2 separate regions of the Homo sapiens genome follow, and region 1 is linked to region 2. Evidence: promoter capture Hi-C in 16 types of primary human blood cells and fetal thymus (Javierre and others, 2016). All regions are on one chromosome and are shown on one strand. The core of a region is centred on a gene start or on the middle of the fragment in contact, and the rest is flanking DNA. Distances in the headings are between cores, read along the strand shown.

Region 1 (6,046 bases), core at 2,780-5,279, 220 kb after region 2:
ATAGGCATTTCAGCATTAGAATGTCCCAAGTGGAAATGTGGATTCCCACCCACTCCTAACTCTGTTCCTCCCCGAGTCTTTAAATGCAACACCATTAACTCAATTGTTCAGGCCCAAATCCCAAGAGTCAAATCTTGGCCCAGTGCATTTCTTTCTGTGTCTCACATTCAATCCTTCAGCAAAACCTGAGCAATCATTTCTACTTTCAACATGTAGCCAAATCCACCTACCTCTTAACACCACCACACCACCATCTTAGTCTAAGACCTGGACTCTGTTTTTGTGAATAAAGTTTTATTGGAACATAGGCATGTCACCTCTCTGCCCCCCTTTTTTTTTTTTTTTACATGTTGTCATGGTTGCTTTTGTGCCACAATGGCAGAGTTGAGAAGTTGTGACAGAGGCCATAGGGTTTGCAAAACTTAAAATATTTACCATCTGGTCCTTTACCACCCTTGATGTGGTGGGCTGAATAATGGCATATAAGATACCAAGTCCTAATCCCTGGAACCTGTAACTATTCCCTTTTTAGGAAAAAGTCTTTGCGGACATGATTAAGAATCTTGAGATGGGGCTGGGCGTGGTAGCCCTCGCCTGTAATCCCAGCACTTTGGGAGGCCAAGTTGGGTAGATGGCTTGAGGCCAGGAGTTCCAGACCAGCCTGGCCAACATGGCAAAACCTCTTCTCTACTAGAATTACAAAAATTAGCTGGGCGTGATGGCACACACCTATAATCTCAGCTACTCGGGAGGCTGGGGCACGAGAAGTGCTTGAACCCAGGAGGCAGAGGTTTCAGTGAGCTGAGATCACACCACTGCATTCCAGCCTGGACATCAGAGTGAGACTTGAGATGGGAAGATTATCCTGGATTATCTTGGTAGGCCCTAAATGCCATCACGTGTCCTCTTTAGAGAGAGGCAGAGGGAGATCTGACACATACACAGGGGAGAGAGGGCAATGTGAAGATGGAGCAGAGAGAGATTTGAAGATGCTAGCCTTGAAAATTGGAGTGATGTGGCTACAAGCCAAGGAATGCCGGCAGCCACTAGCAGTTGGAAGAGGCAAGGAATGAATTCTCCCTAGAGCCTTTGGAAGGAGTGTGGCCCTGCCAACATCTTCATTTGGCCCAGTGAAACTGACTTCAAACTTCTGGCCTCCAGAACTGTAAGGGAACCACTAAGGTAATTTGTTACAGCAGCCACAAGGAACTAAGACCCCTCATCTAAGCCACCATCAAGTCTTGATGTCTAATAATGTCCTAACTAGTCTCTCTGCTTCTCTGGCCTCCTTAAAGTCTGTCCTCCACATTATGGCATAGCGATCCTTTTAAAACACCAGGGAGATAACATTCCCAGCTAAATACCTTACATTGTTTTCCTAGCACCCTCAGAGTTAAATCCAAATATTTTGCCATGGAGTTGGAGGTCCTGTGTGGCCTGCTGATTCCTCCCTGGATTCACATGTCAGCAGTCCTTCCACACCTCCCTGCAGTTCCTACAGGACACTGACTGTGCACCTGCCACCCCACCCATAACCGCGTGGCTCACTCTCACTTCCTTCAGGTCTCGGAGAGAACTTCCTGACTCACTCTTCTAAAATAGCCTTCTTGGCTGGGCACGGTGGCTTATGCCTGTAATTCCAACACTTTGAGAGGTCAAGGCGGGCGGATCACCTGAGGTCAGGAGTTTGAGACCAGCCTGGCCAACATAGTGAAACCCCATCTCTACTAAAAATACAAAAAATTAGCCGGGTGTGGTGGCGTGCGCCTGTAATCCCAGTGACTCAGGAAGCTGAGGCAGGAGAATCGCTTGAACCCAGGAGGCGGAGGTTGCAGTGAGCTGAGATCGTGCGCTGCACTCCAGCCTGGGTGACAGAGCGAGACTCCATCTCAAAACAAAAAAAACAAAAAAAAACAAACAAAAAAAACCTTCTCATCATCTCACCCTTTCACATTATTTTTCTTCAAGCATTTATCATTATCTAAAGTTCAAATGTATATTTGTTTGTCTCTCCCACCTCCACATGAGCTCCACAAAGGCAGAGATTTTTGTCTGTTTTGTTCACTGCTGTATTCCCCGCACCTAGAATTAGTATCTGGTATGTCATAGGCACCCAATAATTATTTGTTGGATAGATGCATATGGTAAAAACATTTAAACCATATCAAATGAAGAGTAAGGGTTTTTTTTTTCTGCTCCATCCTCAGAGGTAATAGATTTCCTGTTGTCCTTCTGGAAATCTTTTCTGCATATAGAAGAATATATATACAATAAACCTTGTATCCATTTTTCACATCCAGAGGAAAATAATGTACATTATGTTGTGTGGCTTACCTTCTTTCAGTTAGACGTTTAAGCTGGAGATCTTTTCATAGCAGCACACACTGAGTTACCTTTACTTCTTTTTTTTTTAAATTTAAGACAGTTTCGCTCTGTTGCCCAGGCTGGAGTGCAGGCTGGAGTGCAGTGGTGTGATCTCGGTTCATTGCAACTTCCGCCTTCCAGTTCAAGCAATTGTGCCTCAGCCTCCTGAGTAGCTGGGATTGCAGGTGCATGTCACCATGCCAGCTAATTTTTGCATTTTTAGTACAAACGGGGTTTTGCCATGTTGGCCAGGCTGGTCTCAAACTCCTGACCTCCAGTGATCTGCTCGGCTTGACGTCCCAAAGTGTTGGGATTACAGGCGTGAGCCACCGCACCTGGCCATACCTCCATTTTTTAAATGGCTGCATAATATCCCACAGCTTAATACTTAAAGAAAAAATAAATTGCTTGTCCAGTTTGAAAAATGGAAAGCCTAATGATGGTGAAATGCCTCTGCGCCCACACCCTTTTCATTTATACCCGTAGATGGTAGCGGTCTGGTTTTCCTTGGGTGCTCCTCAGTGGTTTCCAAAGACTATGATGGGACAACTCAGCAGCGTTTCCCGTCAGGCACTTTGATAGGTCATTTTACTTTCAACAACTAAACAAAGTTTCCTGGGAAGACTGAGAGTCAAAAGAAACTACATTTGAAAGTGTGGCGTAAATAAGAAAACAAAAAAACAAAACTTGACTTGAGCAGTCTTACAATCTCCCTAAGCTGCATGGAGTGCAAGTGGGTTTGCTGTGCAGATGCTAGAGTCCCCTGGCCCCTCCCTCCAATCAGATTACTGCCCCAAGCTTTCTCTATACAGAGATTTCGGGGGGTTCCACTACTGAGGTCTCTCTGGGTCTCAGGAAGTAGAGGGGTGATCCTGGTCTACGAAATGCATTAATGTCCGTGGTCAGGAAGTTCTTTGTATTTGTCCATCTGAACCAGCAAAGCCCAATCTCTCCAACCTTTTCTCCCTTTAGAAAAGATCCATTTCTGCCGGGCGTGGTGGCTCACACCTGTGAGGGGTGAGCACTTTGGGAGGCCGAGGTGGGAGGATTACAAGGTCAAGAGATCGAGACCATCCTGCCCAACATGGTGAAACCCCGTCTCTACTAAAAATACAAAAATTAGCTGGGCGTGGTGGCACACGCCTGTAGTCCCAGCTACTCGGTAGGCTGAGGCAGGAGAATCTCTTGAACCCATGAGGCAGAGGTTGCAGTGAGCCGAGATCGTGCCACTGCACTTCAGCCTGGGTGACAGAGTGAAACTCTGTCCCCTTCCACCAAAGAAAAACCAAAACAAAAAGAAAAGAACCATTTCTTTGATCATGGGTTCAAATGCAATAAAAACTATCAGGCTGTAATACCAGAAGGCTCAAGAGGGAGTGGAAAGCCTCCAGTTTCAAAGGGAAAGTCCAGAAAAAACTGGACTGATTCTTAAAAGTAGTGTATGAAGGTGAGATACATTCCACTGAAGGCATTTAGGTATCACTCCAAGGAGGGTCTCTGGAGAGCAAGTGCACTTGGGCGTGTTTTATGTAATAGCTGGATGATGAGGGCAAGTATTATGATTATAACTATTGCTTAAATAATATCTCCTGAAACCCCAATGAAAAAAGATAATGGTCTGTTCTAGGTTTTAATTGCTAAAAGGAAAACAAAACTGTCATTCGTGGTGTGGTTGGTTCTCAGACCTACTGCTGTCAGTAAATACTGAACAAATGAAACTACAGATTCATTTCAAAATTTCAACAGATTCCTGGGCCACAAAGCCTTTCCCTTTCGTGTTCAAATGATATTTTTTTATTTTTATTTTTTGAGACAGACGTCTGCTCTGTCACCCAGGCTGGAGTGCAGTGGCTGGATCTTGGCTCACTGCAACCTCTGCCTCCTGGGTTCAAGCGATTCTTGTACCTGAACCTCCTGAGTAGCTGGGACTACAGGCATGCGCCACCACGCCTTGCTAACTGTTATATTTTTAGTAGAGATAGGGTTTTGCCATGTTACCCAGGCTGGTCTTAAACTCCTGGCCTCAAGTGATTTGCCCAGCTCGACCTCCCAAAGCGTTGGGATTACAGGCATGAGCCATCTCACCTGGCCGATATTTCAAGTAAGTTGAAATTCAGGCCTACTAGGCCCAAATATCTCATTATATTTGGGGTATCCAACAAATCTTTACTCTTGCATATTAACAGTAGACATTCTGAGATTATAATGCCTGACGTAATTGGGATGCAGAGAAGAGGAAAGGTGACCATTTGCAGGATAGGAAAACAGGGACCATCTGGTGAAGGGTTGGTTCCAACAAAGTCCACAAGTTTTCATTGTTTCATCTTGAAAAGGTAAGGGGACATAGGAGCTCTCTGTATGATTTCTTATCACTGCATGTGAATCTAATTATCTCAAAATTAAAAAAATAGTTAAAGACAAGGGGAGAAACTTTTTGGAAATGGAACTTTTGAATATTATTACTTTTAACCATGCAGCCCCTTGGTGGCTAAAGGAGGCACAGGTTTTTTGTTGCCCTGTGCAGGGGTAAAATAAGCTTGGGATGATGAGCTTCTCTTTTATTTTTTTGAGACGGAGTCTCGCTTTGTCTTCCAGGCTGGAGTGCAGTGGCATAATCTTGGCTCACTGCAACTTCCTCCTCCCAGGTTTAAGCAATTCTCCTGCCTCAGCCTCCCCGGTAACTGGGATTACAGGCGCGTGCCACCATGCCCAGCTAAATTTTTATTTTTAGTTAGAGATGGGGTTTCACCATCTTGGCCAGGCTGGTCTTGAACTCCTAACCTCGTGATCCACCCGCCTTGGCTTCCCAAAGTGCTGGGATTACACGTGTGAGCCACTGTGCCCGGCCTGAGCTTCTAAGTGTTTAAGCTTCTGAAATGGGTTTACTCCATGCTTTCCTCTCCCAATCCAGTAATATGGAAGCTTCGGTAACTTCCAATTTAAGGAAGCAAGTCCAAGCACTTTTATTTTTATCACCACCAGTAATATAAACAGCCACTTTACTTTGGAAAGCTGACCAGGAAGAAGCCTCTTTTGCACCTCTTTGGGGTCAAAAAGTAACAATTTAATATTCCCACTATTTCCCTTATATGTTCTGTTTCTGGACAGTAAAATTCTTTCCTTGAAGGACATTAGGGCCAAAATGGGCAAGGATTCCGAGATTGGTACATCGAGCGTTATCTTCCAACTCTCTTTTCTAAATGGGCTCATTTAGTAATGCAAGCTGCTTCCTTTACTTGAAATGCCCATCTCTTGGTTACCCTCCCAAGCAAACAGAAACACCAACCAGCCAGCCCCAAAAAGATCTCATTCTCTAGCCCAGTGGTTCCCAAACTCTTGAGTCTCAAGATCTTTTTCCACACTTAAAATTTAAGGATTCAAGCTGGGCGCGGTGGCTCACGCCTGTAATCCCAGCACTTTGGGAGGCTGACGCCAGCGGATAACGAGGTCAGGAGTTTGAGACCAGCCTGACCAACATGGTGAAACCCCGTCTCTACTAAAAATACAAAAATTAGCCAGGTATGGTGGCGGGTGCCTGTAATCCCAGATACTCAAGAGGTGAGGCAGGAGAATCGCTTGAACCCGGGAGGCAGAGGTTTCAGTGAGCCGAGATCGTGCCACTGCACTCCAGCCTGGGCAACAGAGTAAGACTCCGTTGGAGACCATCACGGACAACGTGGCA
Region 2 (6,084 bases), core at 44-2,543:
GGACCACGGTCCTCTCCTACCCTGCAGCTCTCCCGGGGCTGCCTCTCCAGCCCTCCCTGCCCTCGGGGACTACTACCGGCGCCCCCCACCTACCTGCTCGACCGGCAGCAGCAGCAACGCGCGGCCGGGGCCCACGGGCCGCACCGGTGGGATGAGGAGAGGCCGGTGGCAACTCGAGGCGGATTCGAGTTCGGGTTCGGACTCGGGTTCGGAGGCCGGGGTCGGGCTAGGGATCGGGCTGGGGGTCGCGGTGTTGGGTCTCCGGGCCGCCGCCGCGCGCGACACCTGGCGGGCTCCCTCCCTCCAGTCCACGCCGGACGCCTGGGCTTGCAGTAACCGCCACCGTAGGCGCCGCCGACCGCACCAGCGCAGGCTCCCGAGCCGGCGGCGGGGCCGGCGGCTGAGGATGAGCTGGGGCCGGGCCTTGCGGACCCGCAGCCAAGTGGAACGGCAGGAACCCCGCTTTAGCAGCAGTCCCGAGTCCGCCATGCTGGGTCCTCAGGGCCTACCGCGCGAGAATCTCGCGAGATCCCGTCGGTCCGCCCCGCTGCCCTCCCAGCTGCCGAAAAGAGGGGCCTCCGAGCCGCCGGCGCCCTCTGCCGGCAACCTCCGGAAGCACACTAGGAGGTTCCAGCCGATCTGGTCGAGGGGCTCCACGGAGGACTCCATTTACGTTACGCAAATTCCCTACCCCAGCCGGCCGGAGAGAGAAAGCCAGAAACCTCGCGACCAGCCATGGGCCACCTCTCCGGAAAAACACCGGGATATTTTTTTTCTCCTGCAGAAAAAGCTTTAGGATTGGCAGTTTAAACAAAACATGTCTATTTGCATACCTTCGGTTTGCATGCATTTGTTTCGAAGTGAGCAACCCTGGGTAACAAGGCGAAAGTATATGACAATTTGCTCAGAATCTTAATGTCAGAAAACTGGAGACTGGGGCAGGGGGGTGTCGACTCAAAGCTGTGTCTCATTTAGTAAACTGAGGCCCAGGTAAAAAGTTCTGAAACCTCGCAACACCCGGAGAAATTGTGTTCCAGCCTCCCACCTCGCCCCAAAATGCCAGAGCTCCTTTTCTAAGCCAGGTGAAGTCACAGAGCGTGGACAGAACCCACAACCGTCCAGAGGAAGGGTCACTGGGTGCCACCTGGTTTGCATCTGTGCCTTCGTCCTGCCCAGTTCCTGAGTGGGACCGCAGGCCCGGAATGTCAAGGCAAACAGTCCTGCTTCAGCCACTGGGCTCCAGTCCCACCCCTTTTGGGGGCCTGAAGTTAGGAAGCATCCGGCAGCTGCCTTCTATTTAAGCAACTGGCCTCCTTAGAGGCCACTCCTTGGCCATGCCAGGCGCGGGCATCTGGCCAGCATGCTGCTCTGCACGGCTCGCCTGGTCGGCCTGCAGCTTCTCATTTCCTGCTGCTGGGCCTTTGCCTGCCATAGCACGGAGTCTTCTCCTGACTTCACCCTCCCCGGAGATTACCTCCTGGCAGGCCTGTTCCCTCTCCATTCTGGCTGTCTGCAGGTGAGGCACAGACCCGAGGTGACCCTGTGTGACAGGTGAGTGAGGGGCCAGCAGAGCCACACTTAGTGGGACCCCTGGCTATAGGGCCCCTCTGGCTGCCATCCTCCAAACAGGACCTTGCCTCTGCCTTTGCCCCTTGAACTGTCCCCAGGCCTTGTTCATCAATCCACTTGCCACCTAAGTGCTGGCTAGACCTTCCTAGACACTTCGGCCAGTTTCCAATTATTTCACCCTTGCTGTTAGAATGTGTTGTATTGTAACTTCATTGAAATTGGTTCTTGGCTTTGTACCATACCTAGGTGGCCAGGCCTAAGCAAGGGCAGCTTTTTCCCTCTTCTTTTTTTTTTTTTTTTTTTTTTTGAGACGGAGTCTCGCTCTTTCACCCAGGTGGGACTGCAGTGGCGCGATCTCAGCTCACTGCAAGCTCCGCCTTCCGGGTTCACGCCATTCTCCTGCCTCAGCCTCCCGAGTAGCTGGGACTACAGGCACCCGCCACTGCGCCCAGCTAATGTTTTGTATTTTTAGTAGAGACGGGGTTTCACCGTGTTAGCCAGAATGGTCTCGATCTCCTGACCTCGTGATCTGCCCACCTCGGCCTCCCAAAGTGCTGGGATTACAGGCGTGAGCCACCGCGCCCAGCCGCTTTTTCCCTCTTCTATCTTCTCTCCACTCCTACCCATGTTCAAAGTTCCCTAGAGTCCCAGATGACAAGTAGGATTCTCCATGGTTCTTCATGGGGTGGGAAGGGAAGACACATCCCATTAGATGCTTTAGGAGCTTGACAAATATAAATTAGGTTGGTGCCATCATGAAGTCAACAATCTAGGTAGAGGGAAACTACTGCTTTTCTTTTATTTCTATCTATCTATCTATCTATCTATATTTTTTTGAGATGGAGACTCAGTCTGTCATCCAGGCTGGAGTGCAGTGGCATAATCTTGACTCACTGCAACCTCCTCCTCCTGGGCTCAAGTGATTCTCATGCCTTAGCCTCGGGAGTAGCTGGAATTATAGGCATGTGTCACCATACCCAGCTAATTTTTGTATTTTTCGTAGAGACAGGGGTTTCACCATGTTGGTCAGGCTGGTCTCGAACTCCCGACCTCAGGTGATCCGCCCACCTCGGCCTCCCAAAGTGCTAGGATTATAGGCTTGAGCCACCGCGCCCGGCCTGCTTTTCTTTTAAAGAAGACAGTTGCAGCCGAGCACAGTGGCTCACGCCTGTAATCCCAGCACTTTGGGAGGCTGAGACAGGCGGATCACGAGGTCAGGAGTTCAAGATCAGTCTGGCCAACATAGTGAAACCCTGTCTCTACATAAAATACAACACATTAGCCGGGTGTGGTGGTGTGCACCTGTAATCCCAGCTACTCAGGAGCCTGAGGCAGGAGAATCGCATGAACCCGGAGGTGGAGGTTGCAGTGAGCCAAGATCACACCATTGCATTCCAACCCGGGCGACAGAGCGAGGCTCCATCTCAAAAAAAAAAAAAAAAAAAAAGACGAAGACAGTTGCTTGCAGACTGTGGAAGTCACAGACCCAGAGGCCCAAGAATGCTGCCGAGGCTTGGCTGCAGGATGTCCTACCCATGAAGCACACGAGATGGTTGGCTCAGGAAGAAGTTTCTGGAAATCTAGTGTATGACGACCTACTCGAAGGGCTACAGCTAGAAACCTGGATAAAGAGATAAAGAGAATGGGCTGGGAAGAGAGATTGGGTAGAGCAGGAGGAGGGAAGACATGAAAACCGGCTTCAGATACCTGAAGAATTGTCTCAGGCAGGAGGCACGAACCCTCCGTTGAGAGACTCGGGACAGAAGTGGTAGAAACCATGGAAGACCTTCTAACAAGCAAGAGGCTGGAAAATGGAACAGGCTAGCACACTTTATGTATTTGTTTGTTTATTTGTTTATTTATAGAGATGAGGTCTTGCTCTTTCCCCCAGGCTGGAGTGTAGTGGTGCAATCATAGCTCACTGCAGCCTTACTTGGGCCTCATTGAAGCTCAAGTGATTCTCCTGCCCCAGCCTCCCAAGTAGCTGGGACTACAGGCATGCACCACCACTCCTGGCTAATTTTTTAATTTTTTGTTGAGAAGGTGGTCTCACTGTGTTGCTCAGGCTGGTCTCAAACTCCTGGTCTCAAGTGATTCTCCTGCCTGGGCCTCCCACAGCATTGGGATTCTAGGTGAGCCACTGGGCCAGCCATTACAAAAAAGTTTTTTTGAGCTGGGATCTCACTATGTTGTCCAGGCTAGTCTCCACCTCCTGGGATCAAGCAATCCTCCATCCTCAGCCTCCTGAGTAGCTAGGACTACAGGCATGGGCCACTGCACCTGGCTTAGCCTGCTCTTTAAACGGGGCTGAATCCTGTCCCTGGCTCATTCCTGGTGGGCTCCAGACAGGAGTTGCTGAAGTAGGGGTGATAAGGCATATAGGCCCTCAACACATTCATAAGTGTCCTGGTGAGAAGCACTAATTAAACAAGGTTAAGCAGGTGTAGTGGTTAGTTTTTGTTTTTGTTTTTGTTTTTTTTCTGAGACAGGGTCTTCCTCTTTTGCTCATACTGGAGTCCAGTGGTACAATCATAGCTCACTGCAGCTTTGCTTGGGCCTCAGTGAGGCCCTAGCCTCCTTACTAGCTGGAACTACAGGCATATGCCACCACTTACCGCTAATTTTTTAAATTTTTTATAGAGACAGGGTCTCACTACATTGCCCAAGCTGGTCTCAAATTCTTGAGCTCAAGCAGTCCTCTCACAGTGCTAGGCCTCCCAGAGTGCTAAGATTATAGGTGTGAGCCGTGGTGGTGAATTTTGCGTGTCAGATTGTCTAGGCTATAGTGCCTAGAGTTGTGTAGTCAAACATCAGTCCAGCTGTTGCCATGAAGGTATTTTTAATTTATTTATTTTGGCCGAACGTGGTGGTTCATGCCTGTCATCCCAGCACTTTGGGAGGCCAAGGGAGGCAGATCACTTGAGGTTGGGAGTTCCAGACCAGCCTGGCCAACATGGTGAAACCCCGCCTCTACTAAAAATACAAAAATTAGCCAGGCTTAGTGGCTGGTGCCTGTAATCCTGGCTACTTGGGAGGCTGAGGCACAAGAATCACTTGAACCGGGGTGGCAGAGGTTGCAGTGAGCCGAGATCGTGCACTCCAGCCTGGGTTAGAGTCTCCAGCGAGACTCAGTCTAAAAAAAAATATATATATTTTGAGACAGTCTCCCTCCGTCATCCAGCCTGGAGCCAACTGCTGCGATCTTGGCTCACTGCAACCTCTGCCTCCCAGATTCAGGCGATCCTCCTGCCTCAGCCTCCCAAGTAGCTGGGATCACAGACATGTGCCAGCATGCCCGGCTAATTTTTGTACTTTTTTTTTTTTTTTGAGATGGAGTCTCGCTCTGTCGCCCAGGCTGGAGTGCAGTGGCGCGATCTCGGCTCACTGCAAGCTCCGCCTCCTGGTTTCACATCATTCTCCTGCCTCAGCCTCCGGAATACCTGGGACTACAGGCGCCCGCCACCACGCCCAGCTAATTCTTTGTATTTTTTTAGCAGAGACGGGGTTTCACCATGTTAGCCAGGATGGTCTCAATCTCCTGACCTCGTGATCCACCCGCCTCGGCCTCCCAAAGTGCTGGGATTACAGGCGTGAGCCGCCACGCCCGGCCCCAATTTTTGTACTTTTAATAAAGACAGGGTTTCACTATGTTGGCCAGGCTGCTCTCGAACTTCTGGCCTCAAGTGATCCACCCACCTCAGCCTCCCAAAGTGCTGGGATTACAGGCATGAGCCGCCGTGCCTAGCCTGAAGCTATTTTTTAGATGTAGTAAACATTTAAATCAACAGACCTGAGCTGGGCATAGTGACTCACGCCTGTAATCCAAGCACTTTGGGAGGCTGAGGTGGGTGGATTGCCTGAGCTCAGCAGTTCAAGACCAGCCTGGGCAACACAGTGAAACCCTGTCTCTACTAAAATACAAAAAAATTAGCTGGGCGTGGTGGTAGGCGCCTGTAATCCCGGTTACTTGGGAGGCTGAGGAAGGATAATTGCTTGAACCTTGGAGGTGGAGGTTGCAGTGAGCAGAGATCACACCATTGCACTCCAGCCTGGGCGACAGAGCGAGACTCCCTCTCAAAAAAAAAAAAAAAGCCTGAGGTTTTGGCCGGGCGAGGTGGTTCACGCCTGTAATCCTAGTACTTTGGGAGGCTGAAGCAGGTGGATCACCTGGGCCGAAGCGGATGGATCACCTGAGGTCAGGAGTTCAAGACCAGCCTGGTCAACGTGTGAAACCCCGTCTCTACTAAAAGTACGAAAATGAGCTGGACGTGTGGGTGCACCCCTGCAATCCCAGGTACTCTGGAGGCTGAGGCAGGAGAATCACTTGAACCTGGTGGGTGGAGGTTGCAATGAGCCGAGATCCTGCCATTACACTCCAGCCTGGACAACAAGGCAACAAGAGTGAAACTCTGTCTCAAAAAAAAAAAAAAAAAAAGCCGGGTGCTAATGGCTCACTGTAATCCCAGCACTTTGGGAGGCCAAGGCGGGCAGATCACCTGAGTTCAGGAGTTCAAG

Evidence for each region. Contacts are between HindIII fragments. The CHiCAGO score rates a contact against its expected background, and 5 or more counts as called.
Region 1: a fragment that was not itself captured here is called in contact with the fragment with the promoter of TAS1R1 in region 2 in 1 of 17 cell types (neutrophils); the score reaches 5.3 in neutrophils.

The regions. Positions count from the first base shown.
Region 1 is chr1:6,775,545-6,781,590 of GRCh38, forward strand. No RefSeq gene overlaps it. Among named protein-coding and RNA genes, the nearest start is that of CAMTA1-DT, 6.4 kb to the right of the region's middle. The HindIII fragment of the contact is 1,738 bases long and covers 3,161-4,898 here.
Region 2 is chr1:6,554,014-6,560,097 of GRCh38, forward strand. It overlaps TAS1R1 (taste 1 receptor member 1), which reads left to right and starts at 1,294. Exons shown (of 6, transcript NM_138697.4): 1 at 1,294-1,551. The coding sequence starts at 1,361. NOL9 (nucleolar protein 9) reads right to left here and starts at 500. Exons shown (of 12, transcript NM_024654.5): 1 at 94-500. The coding sequence starts at 489. RefSeq lists a silencer at 206-465. The HindIII fragment of the contact is 19,423 bases long and covers 789-6,084 here.